Linked DNA regions of Homo sapiens: region 2 is linked to region 1. Evidence: promoter capture Hi-C in 16 types of primary human blood cells and fetal thymus (Javierre and others, 2016). All regions are on one chromosome and are shown on one strand. Each heading gives the region's core, a stretch centred on a gene start or on the middle of the fragment in contact. The rest is flanking DNA. Distances are from core to core; before and after follow the strand shown.

Evidence for each region. The method cuts DNA at HindIII sites, captures the fragments that hold promoters and counts their contacts. A CHiCAGO score of 5 or more calls a contact.
Region 2: a contact is called between the fragment with the promoter of GIT2 here and the fragment with the promoter of GCN1 in region 1, in 1 of 17 cell types (total CD4 T cells). The highest score is 6.3, in total CD4 T cells.

Annotation. Positions count from the first base shown.
Region 1 is chr12:120,191,947-120,197,296 of GRCh38, forward strand. GCN1 (GCN1 activator of EIF2AK4) reads right to left here and starts at 2,769. Exons shown (of 58, transcript NM_006836.2): 1 at 2,734-2,769. The coding sequence starts at 2,751. RPLP0 (ribosomal protein lateral stalk subunit P0) reads right to left here. Exons shown (of 8, transcript NM_001002.4): 8 at 4,753-4,988. The coding sequence ends at 4,827. RefSeq lists a silencer at 2,477-3,066. The HindIII fragment of the contact is 5,843 bases long and covers 1,805-5,350 here.
Region 2 is chr12:109,991,875-109,997,857 of GRCh38, forward strand. It overlaps GIT2 (GIT ArfGAP 2), which reads right to left and starts at 4,494. Exons shown (of 20, transcript NM_057169.5): 1 at 4,299-4,494. The coding sequence starts at 4,350. RefSeq lists enhancers at 3,765-3,814, 4,505-4,664 and a silencer at 4,145-4,234. The HindIII fragment of the contact is 1,710 bases long and covers 3,160-4,869 here.

The DNA.
Region 1 (5,350 bases), core at 1,519-4,018:
CGCACACCCTCCCCATTTCCCCAGTGGAAGTCCCCAGTTTCACATACAGGCTAGGTCAGTAGTCAGTGATTACATTATATGTAAATGGCATTCAACATCCATTTAATAAACTCTGATTCTTCCCAGCTTTTTTATGCCCCTGGTGTTAATAATTACCCTTTCCCACCTCACTTCAGTTTGACTTGTTTTATCTGTTCTTATAAATAATTAAAACCCAAACTTTTTGCCATTTGTCTAAATCTCAGTACATTTAGGGAGATCAGGTATTCCATCAAATTCCACCTTCCTAAGGAAATCTCTCCCAGAGTTTTCTGACCTGCCCCAATTAGGCATGTGATCCTCTACAGCTGGGGCACAGTTTATCACCCTGAACATGTACTTTCTTGTGTTTGGGTGAAGCACAGCCTCCATTTTGTAAACTCCTTGCAAGTATGAAAATGTTCTGGCCAAATACAGAATTCTAGGTTGAAATCATTTTCCTTTAGAATACTGAAGACAAGGCTGGGTGCAGTGGCTCACGCCTGTAATCCCAGCACTTTGGGAGGCCAAGGCAGGCAGATCACAAGGTCAGGAGATCGAGACCATCCTGGCCAACATGGTGAAACCGCGTCTCTACTAAAAATACAAAAAAAAAAATTAGCTGGGCGTGGTGCCGGGTGCCTGTAATCCCAGCTACTTGGGAGGCTGAGGCAGAAGAATCGCTTGAACCCGGGAGGCAGAGGTTGTAGTGAGCCAAGATTGTGCCACTGCACTCTAGCCTGGGCGACAGAGCGAGACTCCGTCTCGAAAAAAAAAAAAAAAGAATACTGAAGACAAGGCCGGGCATGGTGGTTCACGCCTGTAATCCCAGCACTTTGGGAGACAGAGGCGGACAGATTGCTTGAGGTCAGAAGTTCGAGACCAGCCTACCCAACATGGTGAAACCCTGTCTCTACAAAAACTAGCCGGGCATGGTGGCGCATGCCTGTAATCCCAGCTACTCGGGAAGCTGAGGCAGGAGAATTGCTTGAACCTGGGAGGCAGAGGTTGCAGTGAGTTCAGATCGTGCCATTGCACTCCAGCCTGGGCAACAAGAGAGAAACTCCGTCTCAAAAAATAAAATAAAATAATAAAAAATAATTTCAGGCCAGGTGCGGTGGCTCACGCCTGTAATCCCAGCACTTTGGGAGGCCAAGGCAGAAGGATCACCTGAGGTCAGGAATTCGAGACCAGCCTGGCCAACATGGAGAAACCCCATCTCTACTAAAAATACAAAAATTATAAAATACAGAAATATTCTCCTGCACCACCCAATACGGTAGCCACTGGCTACATGTGGCTAACTGTGCACTGAAATGTGGCTGGTACAAGTGAAGAACTAAATTTTTTTTTTTTTTGAGACAGAGTCCCACTCTTGTTGCTCAGGCTGGAGCGCAGTGGTGCGATCTCAGCTCACTGCAACCTCTGCCTCCCAGGTTCAAGCGATTCTCATGCCTCAGCCTCCTGAGTAGCTGGAATTACAGACATGCCACCATACCCGGTTAATTTTTTGCATTTTTAGTAGAGACGGGGTTTTGCCACGTTGGTCAGACTAGTCTCAAACTCCTGACCTCAACTGATCCACCCGCCTTGGCCTCCCAAAGTGCTGGGATTACAGGGTGAGCCACCACGCCCAGCCAAACAATGAATTTTTTTATTTAATTTAATTTTAACAAACTTAAGCCATGTGGCTGCCATACTGGACATTGCAGCTCTAGAGATTTTTCCCTCAAGTGAGTATCAATGTTAAACATTCAGCATGTATTCCCCTAACCCTCTCATACTAAGCTTTTCTTTCTAGTATTCAGTACAACATAACTTGAACATCAGCCACCTGCATAGGAGTCTCAGTAAATGTCTTTTTGAATGCTTAAGTGGTCATTTTCTGGGCCTACACATAAAAATCAATCCCATCACCCTGGAGACACCAAATCAGCCCAGCTGTCCTTAGACACCTGTTCTTCCCCTGCCTCATGACAATGTCTTTTCACCTTAAAACATAACAACTGGGTGGAGGAAAAGGTTTTCCCAGGTCCTTCCTGAACTACAAGGTACCCATAGGTAACACTCTTCCTGGACAGGACAGTTCTTTTCACTAACCCTGGATCTGATAACAACCAACATATATCAAGCCGTATTTTATCTCACTGAACCTTCACAACAACCTTTTAAGATAAGTATTGTTTTAACTTCATTTTATAGATGAAAAGGCAGACTTGGCGGGGTTAAGTCACTTGTTTGGCATGTCACAGAAATCGACGAGCAGGAACTCAAGCCCAGATCTGTATGAATCCAAAGACTACACTCAAAGTCCCTGCTCATAGTAGGTGCTCAAAGAATATTTGCTGAATACAAAGTTTAAGGAAGACTTGGCGTTGGCCCGGGGCTCACAGCCGGAGGGCTTTGGAGAAAAGAAGTAGAGGCTCGGTAAAGTGAACTTCTGCAACTCTGGGGTCGGGCAAAGGCCCCGCCGAGCTCCAGCTGCTGAAGTCGAGGCGGGAGCCCCGGACTCCTCGAGCCCGCGGTCTGCCTGCGCCGCCCGGGCCGGGCCAAGCCCGCAGCCCTGAGAGTCCAGCCTGAGACGGCCCCGAGACTACGACCTCCACAGCCACCACCTCCAACGCCCCTAAGCCGAGGAGCGAGAGGGGCCCCGCCCGACGGCCACCGTCCGCACCCAGTCCCTGGCCGCGTTGGCCCCGCAGCCGCCCGCCTCACCTGCGTGTCCGCCGCCATCCTGCCGGGGCTGACTCCGGAACCGCTTCCGGAACGCTTCCGGGTCACAGCGTGGCCCACGCGGCAGGGCGAGGCCGGGAGCCAGCGGGGGCAGGGCCCCGGGCTTGGTGCCCCCGGGCAGGACGGCGGCCGCTGCAGCCCGGGCAGCCGGATCACGGGCTTAAAGTTGGCCCGCGCCCGAGCCACAAGGCCTCCTCCCCAGGGCCCGCTCTTCAGCCCCGGGCGCCTCGTGGGAGACTAGCGCTTGTAACGTGGTGAGCCCGCGGTGTAACGCTATGGGCCCGCCTTGCAGCCCCTGACCCACTTCCAGCCCGCAGGGCCAGCCCTACGTGGGCCTTTCCTGAGTGATGACTAAGTTCTTTAGAAAAACAAGTGTTGCTTCCTAGATAGCAGGAACTAAAAACTAGGTAAAAGAGTCGGTGAACTAGTCTTTTGTCCTCAGTTTGTAGTTCAGTTGGCGGATGACTTGTACAGGGTTAGCAAACGTGGCTGGATACGGAGGTCAGGGAAGGTTCAGAACTGAACGAGGCCCCTGCCCTGGGGAAATGCTGGACGCCCCAGGCTGGGAGTTTTGAAGGCCACAGGGCAAGAGGCTACGTGCAGACGTGGCTGCAATTTAGGGAACAGGGTCTCCACAGCTTAGTTGTCAGCCCTGTTAGCAGTGGCTTTCAAACCTTTGACACAGACCTAGTTAGAATGAATATATCATGTTCCAGCAGACAGATCTCTAAGTGAAATACAGGAATCACAACAAAAACACCTATTCTCAGCAGATGCTGCTTTCTCTTTAAATACTGGGGCCAGGCATGGTGGCTCACGCCTGTAATCCCAGCACTTTGGGAGGCTGAGGTGGGTAGATCAACCTGATGTTAGGATTTCCAGACCAGCCTGGTCAACATGACAAAACCTTGTCTCTACTAAAAATACCAAAAAAAAAAAAAAAAAAAAAAAAGGCCGGGTGCGGTGGCTCACCCTTGTATAATTCCAGCGCTTCGGGAGGACAGGGCGGGCAGATCACAAGGTCAGGAGTTCCAGACCAGCCTGGCCAACATAGTGAAACCCCGTCTCTACTAAAAGTACAAAAATTAGCCGAGTGGTGGCACATGCCTGTAGTCCCAGCTACTGGGGAGGCTGAGGTGGGAGAACCGCTTGAACCCGAGAGGCAGAGGTTGCAGTGAGCTGAGACCATACCATTGCACTCCAGTCTGGGTGACAGGACGAGACTGTCTCAACAACAAAAAAATTAGCCCGGTGTGGTGGCAGCCTCCGGTAATTGCAGCTACTTGGGAGGCTGAGGCAGGAGAATCACTTGAACCCAGGAGGCGGAGGTTGCAGTGAGCCAAGTCCAAGCCACTGCACCCCAGTCTCAAATATATTTGAGACTATCTCGAAAATATAAATTGGTTACCACCGAGTTGGAGCACCACCCAGTTTGAAAAACTTTACTCTAGGGGACTGGCCCCAGCATCCACCAGGTGCCTATCTCAGCTGACACTAAACCTACTCCAAGTATGCAGCAGCCATAGAAACAGTAATTCTAGTGTAATAGTTACAACTGTGTCTAGAAAACTGTATAGGATGTTTGATTGGTAGCTTCATTTAGATACCCAAACATCAACACCTAAATACAAAGCTCTGGTTTTACCATGGCTTTCGTTTCTAGCATATGGCACTATAAACCTCAAAATTAAGGGCCAGGCACATGGTGGCTCAAGCCTGTAATCCTAGCACTTTGGGAGGCTGAGGCAGGATTCCTTGAGGCCAGGAATTTGAGACCAGCTTGTGCAATATCTCTACAAAAAAAAAATTTAAAAATTAGTAGCTGAGTGTCATGGTGTGTGCCTGTAGTCCCAGCTACTTGGGAGGCTGAGATACGAGGATCCCTTGATCCCAGGAGTTCAAGGGTGCAGTGAGTTATGATTACACCACCACACTCCAGCCTGGGCAACAGCCAGACCCTGTGTCAAAAAGGAAAAAAAATTACAAAATTAAGAGTCCAGAGACTTTTTAAAGAAGTAAGCCTTTATTTCCTTGTTTTGCAAATAAAACTGGCTAAGTTGGTTGCTTTTTGGTGATTAGTCAAAGAGACCAAATCCCATATCCTCGTCCGACTCCTCCGACTCTTCCTTGGCTTCAACCTTAGCTGGGGCTGCAGCAGCAGCAGGAGCAGCTGTGGTGGCAGCAGCCACAGGGGCAGCAGCCACAAAGGCAGATGGATCAGCCAAGAAGGCCTTGACCTGAAAGGAGGGGGGAAGTGGTCAAAATGGTCATCCACACTCCTCTATTACCCACCACCCTCCTGCCTTGGTAGAGTTTAAGGACCAACAATATCAAAGTCCGTGTGAAGCCTTTCCTGTCAGAAGCAGCCCAAGCAGGACAGCTTGGGTATGGCCTAGTGAGGCAGGGTTCCTAAGGCCCAGCTCTTGCCCATTAACCCCCTCTTTGGGTCTCTTGTCATTTCTCAAGTGAGAAACGCCTTCCCTGCCTCCCAACCTCTCAAATATCCCCTCACAAAATTATCTGCTATATAAAATACAACTATAAAAGCAGTAAGGTAGAAGGCCACATCACCCTGCTAATTTGTCACAGTCAGGCCCAC
Region 2 (5,983 bases), core at 3,244-5,743, about 10 Mb before region 1:
TATGCTCATCAATGCATCAGGCTGGTCATCTTGTTGGATGGTATGACCTACCTTGGCTGATTAGGTACAATGTTAATTGAGACTAAAAACACCAGTGGGAGCCTTGGGTAAACAGTTATCTTCTTTCTGGTTCAGGGCCACAGTTTGTAGCCCTAATGTGGATCTACCATTTCAGATGCATGCTTTTTCATTCAAGCTAAGAAAGCAAATTGAGAGGGTACAGACGAATGATTTTGGATCCATCTCCATAAAAATCAAGATAATACTTTTTTTTTTTTTTTTTTTTTTTTGAGATGGAGTCTCACTCTGTCACCCAGGCTGGAGTACAGAGGCACAATCTTGGCTCACTGCAACCTCTATCTCCCAGATTCAAGCAATTCTCCTGCTTCAGCCTCCCGAGTAGCTGGGATTACAGGCATGCACCACCACGCCCGGCTAATTTTTGTATTTTTAGCTGAGACGGGGATTCATCATGTTGGTCAGGTTGGTCTCAAACTCCTGACCTCAGGTGATCCGCCCACCTCGGCCTCCCAAAGTGCTGAGATTACAGGCGTGAGCCACTGTGCCCGGCCAAGATAATATAATTTTGACAGTGAATTATGCAGATAGCATTTTCTGCAGTAAATGTTGTAGACTGCTGTCCTAATTCACTGCTATGAATCAACATGTCAATATGCTTAGCAGAAAGCTGCGAGTTACAGAATCATAAAATCACTCAGCTGCTATGGTTCTGAGGACAGGGAAACCTGGCCTCTTCCATTAGGAAATGTTCTATGATGTCCATGAATTGGTTTGTTTGTCTGTTTGTTTGTTTTGAGACAGAGTCTCACTCTGTCCCCTAGGATGGAGTGCAGTGGCGCAATCTCGGCTCACTGCAACTTCTGCCTCCAGGGTTCAAGCGATTCTCCTGCCTCAGCCTCCCGAGTAGCTGGAATTACATGTGTGTGCCACCAGCTCGGCTAATTTTTGTTATTTTTAGTACAGACGAGGTTTCACCATGTTGGCCAGACTGGTCTCAAACTCCTGACCTCAGGTGATCCACTCACCTCGACCTCCTAAAGTGCTGGGATTACAGGCTTGAGCCACTGTGCCCAGCCAATTAATTGTTTTACATAAACTACCAAGTCCAATCCTGCAACTGATCTGAAAAAAAAAAAAGAAGTTGCAATAACAGCAGCTTCACAGAGGCAAAGATGTAAAATAAAAATGAATAATATTTTTAGTGTGTGTATAATACTTTTTTCCCTTTAAAGTCATAGAGCTTCATTAGCTGTCCTTTGAAACAAGGAATAATTTCATACTTGGCAAGCAGGATGGATCTGGGTAAGTAAACTGAATACCTAGAAACCTCAAATAAAGAAAGAGCTATACTTCGTCAGACTCACAATGGGGTGACAATAGGTGCCACTTAAGCTGCCTGGTCAAAGGGTTACATTTAAAAATTCTTCAATGTCCACAAAAATCTCTAAAATGCATGTACACCATCTTTACCATTTTTTAAGAGTTTATTCAAACCCTTTCAAACCATATAATGAAAAGTTATGGGCTTTCAATCAAAGACGAATCCTGGGAGCCAGTGAGTATGGTGGTTAAGAGGGTTGGCTCTAGAGACAAGGAGTTCAGGGTTTGAACCCCAACTCTGCCACTTCTTGCACAATGATCTCAGACAAGTTACTTGAGTGTTTTCACCATGGTTCAAATGAGAACAATGACAAATCTCGGGATAGTAAGGATATAGAGAATAAGTGAAGTACCTCACACATAGTAAAGTAGTAATGTTAGTTGTTATATCTTTTCTAAATTATTTTCTCAGTATTCAGATATTTTCTAGACGTGAAATTCATGATCACTGGACAAAGTTTTTGATGGGAAATACTTAAAACATTGAACATTTCATGTGACCACTCTACTACTGTACTGAAAATCTCCATGGAGTTTTCAAGTAATTGAACTCAGAGTGTGATGTATTTGAAATGAACCAGATTCATTAAAAAAAAAAAAGTAGAATATTTAAGAAGATGTGATCATGGTTAAATGTTTGCATAAAATAAAACAGAATCAAAATAATTCAATTTAGTATAACTCTGTCGCTATTACTGTATCATCCTAAAAAGCAGAGATTGGAAATGTCCAGATGAAGGAGCTCTACAAAGATGCATTAACAACACTGCTTCCTGCAGTATAGTACTGACACTAATGGCAAAAAAAAAAAAAAAAAAAAAAGACTGTTTTGAAGCATAGCTTTGGTTTTCACTTATTCAGAGGATTTGCAGTATTCTTTTTTTAGCAAGTATTTAACACATATTAATTAAGACAAGTATTCGACTAACCACTTTAGCATCCTGGATCAGAATCCCATGGAAAGAATATTAGAATGTTAACATAGTAAAATAAAAATGTTTGTATGAATGAGATTGGGTAAAACCCTTTAAGTTCATCTGGAGCCAGGGCTCCAGGGACACCACAAATGAACTTCAAAAATGTTTGTGACTCCCCCAGACAAATCTTAGGTAAATTCGTTCACGTGCATTTTAGGGGAGAAGGCCTTAGCATTCAACAGAATCTCAAAGGGGTCCCTAACCCTACAGGTAATTCTCTCAGTAGGGCTGTGCAGAAAAGGCAGCACAAATTCCCAGCTGCTCAATTTCACAGAATATTTCAAGGTAGCCTAATTATATTCAAAACAGGAAGGAAGTGACTCAAGTCTCTGCAGATTAGGCGTATGAGACAACAACTAAAGCGATACAATGGAAGAGAAAATGTTCTGAAATGCACAAAATGCTGCAAAAGTATATTTAGGATGGCAATGGAGGAACAATTTTGCTTTGCCCTGTACCCTATCAAGAAGCAAAACAATATGCATTCCAAGAGGAAGTTAGAAGCTAGACACATGTGAATCAAATACATCACGGTAAGTTCAACTGAAAATAGGCAAGAAAATAAGGAAGTGGAACAAATAACATTTTTAGAGAAAATGATGGAGTTTGTATAACTCACACTAACTTGGTTTAGAAAACACTTCTTTTTAAACTCCTCCATACCCCCTCCCTATCTTCAAAGGAAACTGGTAACACCTGCACTGTACGGGCCATAAAACAACCACATGAGGTTTGAGTTATCACAGTTCTATTTACAATTGGTCTCCACTTCCAAATGACAAGCTTAAGATCAGAACAGTTGCAAAGCCAGTGGTGTTCAATGATTTAATTAAGATTGTTTATCGGACACTATTGTGCCAAGAAAGCCATGTTACCTTCGAATTAACTCAAAGCCAATACATCCAAGCACCTAAAACAGCATGTAATAATCTATCCAGAGACCTGACAATTCAGTTGCAATTGCTAAGACACACTTGATCTCTAAATGTGAATATTATGTATGAACAGTTATGCATCATTATGAAGGAATGGCTTTAGCGTTTCAATGCCCCTATATTGCTGGTGATTTTGCGTTTGTTTCCGTTGTAATCAACGTATGATTTAGATAGTCAAATATAGCTTTAAGGGACTACAAGAGTTCTACTGTAGACAGCATAATGCAAAAAAGAAAAGCCTTAGATGATATGATTCTACGAGTATTCATTGAATCTTCCTCACCACTAAGCGTGATACTCCCGATTATCCTCATTGAAAAAAATGAGGAAATCAAGCAAGTGACCAAGTGAAGTCACCAGCCCAAGGTCAGCCAGAAGCAAAATCTAGTTTGAACCCAGGCCGTTCAGATCCTCAAACTTGAGACAAGCACTGCCTCCTAAGTGCTGGTTGTGTTTGGAAGACCCCGATCTCCTGGCAATTCTCCCGGGCAGAGTAGCTGTCGGATGTCAGCAGCGGGGAAGTCATCTACGGGGACCCTCTGGCGAGTCTCAGGGAGTGTCATCCTCCCCGGGCAGGACACCCAGGCGGAGAAAGGGTCTAGTGGGAGGTGACACCTGCAGCCTCTGGAGGCTGCAGCCGGGAGGACGCTCACATTTTACTTCTGTAATTGGCTTTCCTGTGGATTGCCCAAGCCCCTTCCTGTTGGGGGAGCAGCCCTGGCCCCCGTCACCTCCCCAGTTGGCCTAGGACGGAGGGAACGGGAGGGAACGAGAGGGAAGGGAGGGCCGCGAGGGACGGGGAGGGCGGCGGCCCCCTGCCCGCCCGGCTCTGACAGGCCCGGGACGGTTCCCACCCCAAGGCCGCCCAGGGACCTCTTCGTTGCGACCCTAGCCGCGGGATGCAGCCTGACCTGAGGGGGCGGCCCCGGGGTAGGGGTCCGGGCCAGGAAAGCAGAGGGGAGCGGGCCCGGCCGGTGCGACTCACCCGGCCCGCTGCAGTCAGCGCACACCTCGCTGCTCCGGAGCCGTTTCGACATGGCTCCCACCTCCCACCTGCGGGGAACTAGAGGCCGGGGGACAGCAAAGGCGGCGGTGGCGGCGGCGCTTCCGCTCTAACGGGTCCCAGCTGCGGCGGCGCTGACGGCGGCGCCTCTCCCCTCAGCGCCTTGCAGCCTTGGCACAGCACGCACGCGCGGGGAGGTGCCCTTCGGCGAGTGTCAGGTCATGTGACCGGAAAGGGCACTCTGCCTTGTCGCCATCTTGAGTGAGGGCAGGAGACTGCCCGAGTATCATCTGTCCTACCTTTAAATATTGAATTTGGGTCTTCTTCTCTGGCAGAGATTCCCCTCGTCCCAACTGATTAATACCAGGGGAAGTAGCAATATCTTGTGATGAGAACCCTGCAGCCACAACCTTCCTGAGGCAATCAATGGTCAAGTTCATTCATTCATTCCTTGATTCAACAAATGTTTATCAAGCACTTACCATGCTTTATATACTGTCCCAGCCACTGGAGAAACAGCAGTGAGCAAAGACTGAATTTCTAGTCCTTATGAAGCTTGCATTTTACTGGGGTAAAGTAAAATAAGAATATATTATATGATTCCAGGCTGGGCGTGGTGGCTCACTCTTGTAATCTCAACTCTTTGGAAGGCTGAGGCAGGAGGATCACTTGAGGCAGGAGTTCGAGACCAGCCTGGGCAACATGGTGAAACCCCATCTCTACTAAAAATACAAAAATTGGCCGGGCGCGGTGGCTCACGCCTGTAATCCCAGCACTTTGGGAGGCCGAGGCGGGTGGATCACGAGGTCAGGAGTTCAAGACCAGCCTGGCCAACATGGTGAAACCCCGTCTCTACTAAAAATACAAAAATTAGCCGGGCACAGTGGCAGGAGCCTGTAATCTCAGTTACTTGGGAGGCTGAGGCAGGAGCTTGAACCCAGGGGGTGGAGGTTGCAGTGAGCTGAGATCACGCCATTGCACTCCAGCATGGGCGACAGAGTGAGACTCCGTCTCAAAAAAAAAAAAAAAAAAAAAAAAATTAGCCGGGCGTGGTGGCGCATGCCTGTAATCCTAGATACTCAGGAGGCTGAGGCATGAGAATCGCTTGAGCCTGGGAGGTGGACGTTGCAGTGAGCAGAGATCGCGTCACTGCACTCCAGCCTGGGGGACAGAGCGAGACTGTCTCAAAAACAACTTCAACAACAACAACAAAAATAACAAAAAAGAATATATTAGATGATTCCTTAGGCTTCAGTTTTAATCTCATGTTCAAAATTAAGATAATGCATTGTTTACTTCTAGTCCACGATTTGTTTTTGTATGGCTTGCTACTTAAGAATGATTTTTACATTTTTAAAGGGTTGCGAGATGAAAATGAAGAAGAGAGAGAGGGAAATAAAGAAAAAGAGGAAGAAGAATATGCGACAAAACTTGTATGTGACCAGCAAAGTTAAACATTCATTTTGGCTAAGGACAGATGGAATAAATTATGGGAAAAATGTGATACACCTGCTGGATAGTAACCCCTCAGTAAATAGTAGCTCCCATAATTATGGATATTGCTATTATTTTCTAATTACTGTTTTTCTTCATATGCGTGGAATTTGAGAATAACAATAGCTAACATGGGATAATTTACAAAATGGTGTGAGATAAACACAATGAAA